2 separate regions of the Homo sapiens genome follow, and region 1 is linked to region 2. The links are contacts of gene promoters, found by promoter capture Hi-C in blood cells and fetal thymus (Javierre and others, 2016). All regions are on one chromosome and are shown on one strand. The core of a region is centred on a gene start or on the middle of the fragment in contact, and the rest is flanking DNA. Distances in the headings are between cores, read along the strand shown.

The links. Contacts are between HindIII fragments. The CHiCAGO score rates a contact against its expected background, and 5 or more counts as called.
Region 1: a fragment that was not itself captured here is called in contact with the fragment with the promoter of HERC1 in region 2 in 5 of 17 cell types (naive B cells, megakaryocytes, erythroblasts and 2 more); the score reaches 6.4 in naive B cells.

Annotation. Positions count from the first base shown.
Region 1 is chr15:63,982,998-63,989,305 of GRCh38, reverse strand. It overlaps DAPK2 (death associated protein kinase 2), which reads left to right. Exons shown (of 12, transcript NM_014326.5): 3 at 5,552-5,773. Among named protein-coding and RNA genes, the nearest start is that of DAPK2, 60 kb to the left of the region's middle. RefSeq lists an enhancer at 3,365-3,866. The HindIII fragment of the contact is 2,080 bases long and covers 1,622-3,701 here.
Region 2 is chr15:63,832,321-63,838,428 of GRCh38, reverse strand. HERC1 (HECT and RLD domain containing E3 ubiquitin protein ligase family member 1) reads left to right here and starts at 4,481. Exons shown (of 78, transcript NM_003922.4): 1 at 4,481-4,602. RefSeq lists enhancers at 4,293-4,422, 3,596-4,459, 4,460-5,325 and a silencer at 4,663-5,092. The HindIII fragment of the contact is 17,710 bases long and covers 1,219-6,108 here.

The sequences.
Region 1 (6,308 bases), core at 1,412-3,911, 150 kb before region 2:
AGCTCACTGTAGCCTCAAACTCCTGGGCTGAAAACCATCCTCCCACCTCAGCATCCTGAGTAGCTGGGACTGCAGGTTGTGCCACCTTGCCTGGCTTTTTTTTTTTTTTTTTTTTTTGGAGACAAAGTCTCACCCTGTCACCCAGGCTGCAGTGCAGCAGTGCAGTGGCATGATCTCGGCTCACTGGTACCTCTGCCTCCTGAGTTCAAGTGATTTTCATACCTCAGCCTCCCAAGTAGCTGGGATTACAGGCTTGCACCACCATGCCTGGCTAATTTTTGTATTTTTAGTAGAGACAGGGTTTCACCATATTGGCTAGGCTGGTCTCATACTCCAGGCCTCAAGTGATCCCCCTGCCTCAGCCTCCCAAAGCACTGGGATGACAGGTGTGAGCCACCATACCTCTCCAGTTTTCTTATCTGTGAAATGGAACTAAAAATGATACTTGCAAATATTGAAAAAGAGAATGAATATGAAGTTAGCTCATTAAGAAAAAAGCTGGCCGGGCGCGGTGGCTCATGCCTGTAATCCCAGCACTTTGGGAGGCTGAGGCAGGCAGATCACTTGAGGTCAGGAGTTCAAGACCAGCCTGGCCAACATGGTGAAATCCCGTCTCTACTAAAAATAGAAAAAAATTAGCCATCCATGGTCGCGGTGCCTGTAATCCAAGCTACTCAGGAGGCTGAGGCAGGAGAATCACTTAAACCCAGGAGGTGGAGCTTGCAGTGAGCCGAGATTGCGCCACCGTACTCCATCCTGGGCAACAGAGCGAGACTCCAGCTCAAAAAAAAAAAAAAAGGAAAAGCTGGATGTAAATGTTGTAATGTTCACATTGCTATACAAAATTGATCCCGTGGTGTGACATTTGGTTCATGCCCTGTTTATTTACCCTTGACAGTGAAGACTTTGGGGGGTGGGGATTAAGCCAGGCTCCTCCATGAACCTTAAGAGCTGAGGTTGGGGACATTTCTGAGCACTGAGAAGCTGTTCTAGGTATACCCCTTTTAATGTGAGTCCTGGGCAGACAACTAGAGAGCCCTTATGAGGTGGCACCTGGGGGCCTGACAAGTTTGGAAATGAGGCCCATCTGCCAGTGACACTGATCTTGACACAGCCCACTTGTCCTCCCAGGTGCTGAGTGAGTGAGGAGCTGAGTCCTCTGCCTGGGAAGAGGGGTGTGTTCCTGACAGAATTGCAGGAGAGTGTGCTGGCAGAAGCGGGGTGTTTTCTGTATCTTGAGGATTTACTGTCCCTCACGAAACCATCCTACGTGACTTTTGCAAGCCAGTCTCAGGCACAGAGTTCCCACCCACCCACACCTCATGCTCTTCTGCAAGGCTGGATGGTAAAGTCCTATCTCAGACATTACCTCATGATTTCCCAAACAACCCTGGGAAGTGGGCAGGGCAGGTATTATCATCCCCATGTGACAAAGAAGGAAACTGAGGCCTGGGGAGTTGAACAGGCTGCCCAGGGTCCTGGCTCGTTAGTGGTAGGGCTCTGACTAGACTCCCAGTCTCCTGACACCAGCCCAGAGTTAGGAATTTGGAGAGTGAAGAGAAAGGGCTTCATTCCTGTTTAGAGTTGTCCCAGGCTCTTTGGAGCTGTCTGACAGGAAGCTTTCTAAGATGAGACCTGGGATGGCAGATGGAGAAACATGAACTGAAAAGGCAGCTCCCTGTCAAGCCCATGAAACTTTGATAGCAGATTAGGACGAGGAATCGGGCCTCCTACCAGCCCCGTGCTGCAGTAGACCATGCATAGGTATTGATTGTTGCTATGGGGGGCAGAGATACTGGAATATGTGTGCTTTGCATATGTATACCAGATTCCAGTATTCCCATCATTTTTGATTTAGTGTTAGCAATGACTTTCATTAGAGGTTGAATTGCTCCCTTCTGCTCCCTCCCTGGATGACATTCTGGGTGGCTCTGTCCTAAAGTAGACAGACCCTCGCCTCCCACCCATCATCCCTGTAGCCTAGCTGGCGACTTCTGCACTGTGGGACCTCAACTTCTGGCTGCAGAGCCTTCTGTGTGCAGAAAAAGGCCTGTTGCTGTCACCTGCCCTTGGGTTGGCTGGGCCCTCTGATGGGCATACTAGAGCCACCTCAGGTTCTGCTTTTGTGCATCTGCTGAGTACAGTGGCCAGGGAGTGCCTGACTGCAAATTTTCACTCCTGTTATCCTCCGAAAGCTAGAGTAATCTTCTGCCTTGATTTGCATATTCATAACACAGCAGTTAGACTGGTGAACCCCTCAAGCAAAAATCATGCTGATGGGAGAGACAACCCCTCCCCTCTGATTCCCTTTCTTTACTCCTTTCCTGAAATGATCAGATCAGAGAACTATGGGGAAGTGTAATACTGAAAATGAGGAACTAGTATGAGTAACAGTGGTATAGTTTCTTCATTTGTGAAATGGAGATAATCAGAAAGCTGTTGTAAGTCAGCCCTGGCTGCATGTCAGTTACCCAGCGGGCTTTTAAATAGCCCCATCTTCAGGCCCAGACCCAGGAGATCAGAATCTCTCAGGGTGAGACTTAAACACTAGGAGTTTTAAAATTCCCCAGGCAATATCAATGTGTGGCCTGGGTTGAGAACCACTGCTCTAGGATTTAAAGAGTTGGCTACTTGCTCGGAATAGAGCTATTTTCACATCTGGCTGTGCGTGGGAATCATTGGCGGGGTAGGGTGGTGCTTTTAAAATTAAACTGAAGCTGGGTGGTGTGGCAGGCACCTGTGGTCCCAGCTACTCGGGAGGCTGAGGTTGGGAGGATTGCTTGAGCCCAGGAGTTTGAGGCTGCAGTGAGTTATGATCACACCACTGCCCTCCAGCCGGGGCAGCAGAGCCAGACCCCATCTCTAAAAATAAATAAAATTAAACCAATTCCTTGGTTTCACATTCCAGACCATTTGAATCAGTGACTTATGTCTCTGGATGTCTCTTGCTCAGCCTTCACATGAACCACTTTTGAGTACCACGGGCCAACATTACAAATATTTCCAGTCTTCACAATTCTCTAGCAGGGAACCCTGATTCCCATTTGACAGATGAGCAAATCTATGTTCAGAGCAGGTGAAAGCATAAGTCTCTGAGGCCAGGCCTGTCTGATCTTGAAGCCTGGGGGCTGGGTCTGGTGGAGGGTGTTCTCTGCTCTTCTGGAAACAGCCCAAGGAGTGGGGGACACCAGCCAGCAGCCTTGGCTCCCTCTGAGGCTCCCCTCTACAGGTTGAGCAGAGGGCTGTGCCTGAGTGAAGACAGGTGAGACGAGTGGTGGTGTGTGGTATTTGGCGCCATCGTAGTCACCCACTCTCAAAATACCTCCTTTTGGGGAGGGAAAGATGCCTGTGCAGTGGGCCTGCCCCGGTCACCACTCATTGCCACAGCTGTCTCGCAAAGAGAAAACTCAGGCAGGAAAAGCAAACACTCATTTGCTTTTTGAGAGTTTGAGGAATTTTTCAGGCATGTGATATAGAAAAAAAATGCCACTGTTTCCCTCATAAGAGGAAGGGGAAACAACGTCAACATGGCCTGAAATGTTTAGCTCTAGTTTACAAAAGCCCTTCTGCCGTTTCACAAGTCCTAAGGCTGTCAACACAGTGCAGGGCTGGGAGCTGGGGGATTTGGATGCCAAGCCAAGCCCTGCGCCACTGCCTATGTGCTCTGTAAACCTAAGTGTATCCCTTACCACCCTTAAGCTTTGCTTTCCCCACAGGTCAAGTAGGAACTCAGGGCTTCTGTGACAAGGTCACAGGGACTCTGAAATGCCAGGCCCTGCCAGCGGCTGCTTGAGGTGTCGGAGAGGAGAGGCGTGTGGCTGCCTTGACACTGAGACTCAGAGCCACCCGGGCCTGGAAGCTCGGTCAAGTGTTTGTTGGCACCTACCAAGGCACCCGCTGTCCTCGAGGCCCAGAGTGGCTCCAAGAGACCATATGTGTTAGAGTTCACACTGAATGTGTTCACTCTGGCTCTGGGAGGCCTGGCTCCACTCCACCTGCGTCAGCCCTTAGTGTGTGCACAGCTCAGAGCCAATATTTGGAACTGAAATAGCTAAAAATTTAGAGTCAGTGGACGATGTAAGATAAATTTGGCTCCACAAAGCCTTCTCTGCCCAGTCCAGCCCCCAGGATCTTCTCTTTCCCTAGAGCTCCATCTGTACCTGTTGTCTGTGCCTTTGGTCCCTGCCCCGTAGTGCCTAGCACAGATCCTGGCACAGACTGGATGCCCAGACAGTGTTGATTGAATGGAGATTAAGGCAATGGAGAGATGCATGAGTTTGTGTTTGGGAACGTCTCTGAAGTGGCTGCCATAGAATGCTACCTAAGTGTTGGCCTATGTATCTGTTGCTTGCTGAACTTGACTTTGTTGTTGTTATTGCCACTCCGGGTATTTTGAAGACTGTCTCACTGAGGATGATGCTAATGATGGAGTGGTTCAGATGCAGTGCTATTTTGCTATTTTCTGCATTTGGGGCAAATATCCCAGGCATTTCCCTGTATGTAGCTTTTAACCCAGAGCCACTAAGAGTGTACCTCTTAAGTCTGGAGTCTGCTGGCCCCTTATTGAGCCATTAAGCTGAACCAGAAAACTTTCTGAGTTACTCAAGCAGTGGGTATTTTGGGTGGCAAGAAAACATGGGGCAATGATGGCAAATGGCAGTAAGGGGACGGGAGGACCCCCGGGCAAGATGGTCACTGGGAAGTCTCTGAGGACTTAGATCTGCTCCTGCTGGTCACTGAACTGAGGTGCAGAAGCAGGTGGTTGGTGCCCTTCCCTGTGGGGAGGGCCCCTGGAGCACTCAGGGAAGCTGGCTCAGGGCTGCCTGCCACTCTGCCATGGACTCCATTTCATGCTTGCTGTCTCTGTCCCTGGAGTAATGGGTTTCTGAGCCCAGCCCTGGGTACTAGTGCCTGAAGGGGAATAATAATGGTCTAGACTGCTCTAACTATCTCAGAGGCTTTGTGGACAGCCGGTTGGGTATCTGACTTTGAGGCTTGGCTTTGCCATTAACTCTGCGATGACCTCAGGCGAGTCACATGACCTATCCTTATGCCTCAGTTTCCTAATTGTACAACTCTCTGTTTATACCAAGTCCTCTGACTGTGATGCTCCCCCACTATGATGATTAACCTTGTTAGGCTGCCTCCTCTCCAAACTCTACCCAAACCTGGATCCCCACCAGCCCAGTCTGCTTATGGACATTGTGATTTCATCTGGTGGGTCCTAGACTTGGGTTCTAGCTGAGATTTTGCAATGACAAGGCTATGTCATCCTGATCAATAACCTTTCTGGGCCTCAGTGCTCACCTCTGTACACTGGGACTAAGAATACTAACATTCATTCCTCATAGAAGGAATGGACAGAAGGGAAGCCCAGTCCCTGCCCCATCTCATCCACAGGTTGTCATCAGGTGGGGATGCAGACTGGTGGCATGATTTGTCCTGTCCTGGCAGAATCACTCTGAATTTGTGTGACCTGGTAGCTGACAGTGGGGTCATTTCCCCAATGACCACAGTGATGACCTAATCTTGTGGGTCTGTGTCCCCACAGTGGCCAGTTTGCCATCGTGAAGAAGTGCCGGGAGAAGAGCACGGGGCTTGAGTATGCAGCCAAGTTCATCAAGAAGCGGCAGAGCCGGGCGAGCCGGCGCGGTGTGAGCCGGGAGGAGATCGAGCGGGAGGTGAGCATCCTGCGGCAGGTGCTGCACCACAATGTCATCACGCTGCACGACGTCTATGAGAACCGCACCGACGTGGTGCTCATCCTTGAGCTGTGAGTGGGGTCCCCAGGACCCACAGGGTTGGGGGGCAGCAGGGGCAGGCAGAGCAGTGGAAACTCCAGCCACAGGCCCCAGGGGGCAGCAGCAACCAGGCCTAAGCTCAGCCCAGAGGAGGTGAAGTCAGTGGTGGGCAGATCCCCTCTGTCTCAGTTACCCCCTTCCTCCTTACCCGCTTCCTCCTCCTGAAACTGAGCCAAAGGAGGGGCAAGCTTGCTGAATAGCAGGGGCAGAGGGCAATGGCCTAAGTCTGGCTTTCACTGGATCCTGGAGATCAAAGGGAAGAAATGACTGCACTGGGGTCTTTTCCTGGCTGGAGAAGCATGTGGGAGGGTGAGTGGGACAGATGGTGGGGTGGGGCCAGGGGAGGCTGTCAGCGAGGGCTGTGTACTATGAGGAGGGGAAGTACAAACATCTCTGGGCTCTGCGAAGCCCTTCTCCAGCCCTTTCCTGGGGAAAGTCCACTGCATTTGTGCTGTGAATGACACCTTTATTGTTATAATAATAGCTATTATTTAGAGAGTCCTACTG
Region 2 (6,108 bases), core at 3,232-5,731:
AAGTCAAAAATGCATTTAATACAATTAACCTATTGAACATCATAGCTTAGCCCACCCTAATTTGAAGTGCTCACAACACTTACATTAGCCTACAGCTGGACAAAATCATCTGGCAAAACAGGACACTGTAGTGTTGGTGATTGCAAGCCTGACTGGGAGCTGCAGCTTGCTGCCACTGCCCAAGACTGTAGGAGAATATCCATATTGCCCAGGAAAAGATAAAAATTCAAAATTTGAAGTACAGTTTCTACTGAATGCATATTGCTTTCACACCATCATTAAGGTTGAAAAATCAGAGAAGTCAGGGACCATCTGTATAAATAAACCATAAATGAAAATAAAGTATGTGTTGTCATATTTTGGAAATGCCTCTTAGGCTCTGATCTGCAATATTATCTGGATCAAAAGAGTGGCTGAAGGGAACTATTGGGGACCAAGTACGTGAGGTGGAATGAATTCTTTTTCTGGTGTTTAAACACAAGCTGTAAGAACAAAATGTTTCTAATTAAGATACCACTAATTTTTCTCTCCATTAATTCCATCTTTATTCAAAGCTAAGGGTGTATATAATGACTCCACATCAAAGACTCTTTTCTAATGGTTTAGGAGATACAATTTTTATTAGAACCAAGGAGAATTCACAGCCCACAACAGAACAATTTGTTGAAGTTATTTTGGAGTTGATTTAGGAATCGCTCTTCATGAAATGTGATGAATCTTCATTATGGATGCTTTTTTTTTTTTGAGACAGAATCTCACTCTGTCACCCAGGCTGGAGTTCAGTGGTGCGATTTCCGCTCACTGCAACCTCTGCTTCCTGGGTTCAAGCAATTCTCCCTGCCTCAGACTCCTGAGTAGCTGGGATTACAGGTGCCCGCCACCAAGCCTGGCTAATTTTTGTATTTTTTAAATAGAGACGGGGTTTTGCCATGTTGGCCAGACTGGTCTTGAACTCCTGACCTCAGGTAATCTGCCCACCTCAGCCTCTCAAATTGCTGGGATTACAGGCGTGAGCCACCGTGCCTGGCCCATTATATATGTTTTCTAAACCTCCTCCAAAAAGGCTTTCAGCTCTTTTTGCACTTCTTCTGGTTTGCTTGCTCCCTCCCACTATACCTTTATCACTTGCACTCTCCTCATGTGATATTATATCGATCTATTTTCTTCCCTCTCTCCTCCCATTAGACCATAAGCTCCTTGAGGGCAGGTGTTTAAGCTTGTTCAATAGTATATTTAGTGCCTTGCACAGTGCCTGACTTATGATAGGCATTCCACAAAGACCTGTTAAATGAATGAATGAATAATCATACCTCACATTTAAATAGTGCTACAAATATGGTTACAAAGTACTTTCTTATGTTATTTGACTCCCATGATACTCTCCGGCAGGCAGTGGGTTTTATTATTACCCCTATTTACAGATGTGAGACTAGGCTCAGAAAGACTGTGTAATGGCAGGGCAACTAGGCTGCAATTTCTGGAGCTACCAGAACTCATGTCCATGGATTCCTGCTCTGGAGCTCTTTTCTGTTTTCAGAGTGATATATTTCCTGAGCCAAGTGCCAAGGGCAACACAAACTTACTCCCAGTGTCTGTTTACCCCTGCTGCTCTGCCTCCACACTTTACTGCTCTGCTGGATTTCTTCACTTCAAACTTAGCCCTGATTTTTATCTAGGAGTTGCACATTTCCTAAATGCAGATGAAAGATGAAAAATATATATTCTACTGTTGATTCTCCAGTTCCTTTGCCTGGGACCTCCCAGCTGTGGTGTGGTGCTGTGAAGTATGAGGCATGAAGTGGGGGTGACATACGTGAGGGGAGGAAGATGTGGCTGACTGGTATGGCCAGGGTATGCTGCTCAGAGGGCTATCAGACCAAGGGCTTGTGATGCTTAGGACTTGGCTGTGGCTCTGAGATCCCTCCATCCACTCTTCCCATCTCCAACATTTTTCTTTAGGGAAATCTGAATAAAATGAACTGGTAGAGTTGGGAGGTTAATGCTGACAACAAGGTTCCAGGATATGCTGATTTGAGTATGAAACAGTGTTTTAAGCATGGTGCGGTGGCTCACGCCTGTAATCCCAGCACTTTGGGAGGCCGAGGCAGGCAGATCATTTGAGGTCAGGAGTTCGAGAGCAGCCTGGGCAACATGGTGAAACCCTGTCTCTACTAAAATATAAAAAAATTAGCCGGGCATGGTGCAGCACACCTGTAATCCCAGCTACTAGGAAGACTGAGGCAGGAGGATCGCTTGAACCCGGGAGACAGAGGTTGAAGTGAGCCAAGATCACGCCACTGCACTCTAGCCTAAGCAGCAGAGTGAGACTCCACCTCAAAAAGAAAAAAGAAAGAAAGAAAAAAACAGTGTTTTGGGAAAGAGTGGTGTGGTCAAGGTGAGGGTGGCTAGTAGTCAGGGCTCACTTGCTGACACTAACAGTATTTGCTAATTGTATGCAACTGAACACAGTTGTATTCAATTCTCTTTTACACACAGCTCTGAGGGTGGAAGCTAAGGAGATGGTAAAAGAGGGAGTCTCTTGATTGGTCTTTAAAGTAAGCAGTCCTTTTCTTGAAATAGAATGGGCAAAACCAGGCTGGGCACGGTGGCTCACCCCTGTAATCCCAGCACTTTGGGAGGCCAAGGCGGTCGGATCACAAGGTCAGGAGTTCGAGACCAGCCTGGCCAATATGGTGGAACCCCATCTCTACTAAAAATACAAAAATTAGCCAGGCATGGTGGCACACACCTGTAATCCCACCTACTTGGGAGGCTGAGGCAGGAGAATCGCTTAAACCTGGGAGGCGGAGGTTGCAGTGAGCCAAGATGGTGCCATTGCACTCTAGCCTGGGCAACAAGAGCAAAACTCCATCTCAAAAAAAAGAAAAAGAAAAAGTGGGCAAAACCAGTACAATTTTACAAATTCAAGAAAGACAGAATATCATATTTGTGAGTGACGTAGATGACATCAACAAGTTAAAAGGAGGAGCTTTTGCTTGTTGTTTTTGAGTATGCTTCACACACAATACCCAGATCATAAAGCACTAGCAACAATGACATCACTCCTCATGTAGCTACTCCCTTACATCATTTACCAGAAATACACATTTTATACATAGAAACTTAAAAGCTACACACCTAAGACCCATCATTTAATGAGTACTTAATATGTGCCGTATGTGAGCTTTACATATATTTTACTCCTCAGAGGAACCTTGTGATAACAAGAACTGGCATTATAAATTGACACATAAGGAACTGAGGTTCAGAGAGGTCAAGCAACTTGCCCAAGGTCACACACCTGGGGTAAGTGGGATTCCAGAATTCCCACCAGTGTCTGACAGTGAAGCACATGGCTCCTAACTCTTGGACTAAACTGCCTCATGTGACACACAAACATGTATCTAATTTAACCATGGGAAAGCACTCCCTCGTCTGTCTATACCGTAATTTCTTACATTAGTGACACATTCATGGCTTGTATGTTTGTGTGCTTCTCCTACGCCTCCAATTGGATTGCAAACTTCTGGAACGCAGAGGCCAACTCTATTTTTTGTCCCCAAGTCATCGGTCAGTTTAATTGATGCTCGTTAGAATATCTGGAAGGAAAGACACCATGAAGGTGGCTGGAAAGGAGTAAAACCAGGTACAGAAGGAGGAAGATGGAGATGGGGTATTCACTCAACAATTTAATGTCCACTTGGACCTATGTTAGGCGCTGGAGATATGGTGAGGACTGAGCCAGTCTGTGTCCTTCCCCTCATGGGGTTTCACGTGGAGGTCGAGGTCATGATCAAGGATGTAAGTCACCCAAAGGACACTACTGTGTTCCCAAGCAGAAAAGAAAACCGAGGAGCCAGGCCCTGGCATCTGCAGGGTTCTGGCAGTCCCATAAGGCGCAAAGACATGAACAAGGTGGAAGAGTAGGTCAAGTGAAACGCTTTTATGTGATTGAACTTAGCCGGCCGGAGGGCCGGGGCCGCTGCGATGAGAGATAAAGAGCGTGGGGCGCCGGGTGCGAGGCGGAGATAAAGGGGTGAGGCCCTGGCCCTGCCGCCGGCCGTAACACGTGTCCCTTCGCCTGGCGGCGGGGTCTTCCCTGCCCACCACGAGGAAAAGGGGGCGCACTGCATGGCCCCCCACTCCTCACCACCCTTTGTGAAACGCCCCCAATTGTGCTTCATCTGTGGAGTCAGGTCCCCGCAGGCGGTCGGGGCTGCCCGGATTCCGCGACGGCTGAAGGGTGAGGGCCGCGCGGTAGCAAAGTGTCCCCAGCACCTAGCTTGGCTCCCCTCGCTCCCAAATCCCTTTCCCCTTTTCGCTCAACCCCCAACTCCACCTCAGCCGCCTTCCTCTCGGTTCCCCTTTCACCTCCCGCGCTGGGCCTGTTGGGCGGGGCGAGGGCTCCCGGCTGCGCGAGAGTTCCGCCCAAATCTCGTGAGACTCGCCTGACGCCGCCGCTGCTGCCGCCGCCTCTTACGTCTTTCCCTTTGACAAGTCGCTGCTGCTGCAGCAAAAATAAAGGACGCGACCGCCGCAGCCTCTGCGGAGCCGGGCTCGGGTCGCCGGAGCCGCGCCCCACCCCGCCAGCTCCAGAGCCACGTACGGTAACGCATCATCTACCGTCCTCCTGGTCCTGTGTGTGTGTGTGTGTGTGTGTGTGTGTGTGTGTGTGCGCGCGCGCGTGTGTGCTTTGCCGGCCGCGCAGGGCCGGCCGGGGCCGTTTCGGGACTGCAGCCGAGCGGGGCTGCTGGGGTCCCGGGTGGGCGGCAGGCGAGCTGGGGGAGCCCTCCTGGCGCGCCGCGGATCCCCCGGGTCCCCGGCTCTAGAGGCCTCCTGCCGCCCGGGCGCCTCGGAGCAGCGTAGAAGCCGAGGCGCCCGCGGAGAGGGCCGAGAGACCCGCCCCTCCAGCGGCTTACAACGTCTGTGCCCCGGCCCCGCTGTGGTCGCGTCTCTTTCTGCTTCATTCCTTTATCTGCTGACCAGCTCCTCTGCCCCGGCTGGGGCTCGGTCCGCGGGCGGCGGCCGACTCCCTCTCAGGGTCCGGGGAGTGCCGCGACCCCGGTGTCCCCAGGCGCCGGCCGCCTTTAGCGGGGTGGAGGCTGGGACGACGTGTCTTCCTCCTCTCCTCTGCCTTTGGGTGAGGGCAGCTCATCATCTGCTAAACCTTTCTCCAAATCTCCCGCCCCAATAAAACAACAAATTATAAAGCCTTTGCAACCGGGAGGCGAGGCGGGGCGCATTGTTTAGTCTTAAGCGTGAGATGAGGATGATGATGGTGATGACAGGAGCTACCCCGGGGAACATGGTGAAATCTGTTCTGTGATGGGTGGCAGGTTACTGGGAGACACGAGGAGGACAGGAGCTTGTACCACCTCTCCCAGGAGGTTATGTAAAAGACATGTTATCTTAGAGAGCTGTGAAACACAGGGACAGATTTGTCTTAGTTTAAGAAATGTCTATAATACTTAGAATATAGAGATAATTAAATGATGGGAATAACAAATCTGAACAAACTAACCCATCTTTGTAATTCCATCTCCAGAGGTGGCATTTCATGGTTAACATTTTATTGTATTTCCTAACAGACACATTTTTTTTTATCCTTGCTTGGGACTTCCTCATTCTATATTTGTTCCAAAAATGATTTATTTTATTTGAATCAGTTCTCTGGCCTGCTTGATTAAAACTGGCTGCTAGTTCATTATCACTGGCTGAACTCTGCCATCACTATCTTTTTCACTGGGCCCTTTTCCAAAATGATTGTTAGCTAAGTGGTTTGAAAAATCAAACGTTAAAACATTGTCTGTTTGGGTCTAGTACCTATGTATATATTATATTTTTACAATTCTGTTAGTGGTGGTTGCTCAAAATGGGGCAGTATTTGTAGAAGGGAAAGAAACTATGATTATTCATAGTGGGAAGAAACCTATTTACCTCAGGTTTTATGAAATTGATTTCTACTGGATATTTTTAGACCAAAATTGTTCTGTGACATTGTTTCATAGTGCCTGTTGTGATTAGTGTGGGATGAGTATGTCTCTTTGATATATGTGTTTCCATAGCCTGCGTTTATACAAGCAAAATTGAATGTCCTAGGTGCCTGTC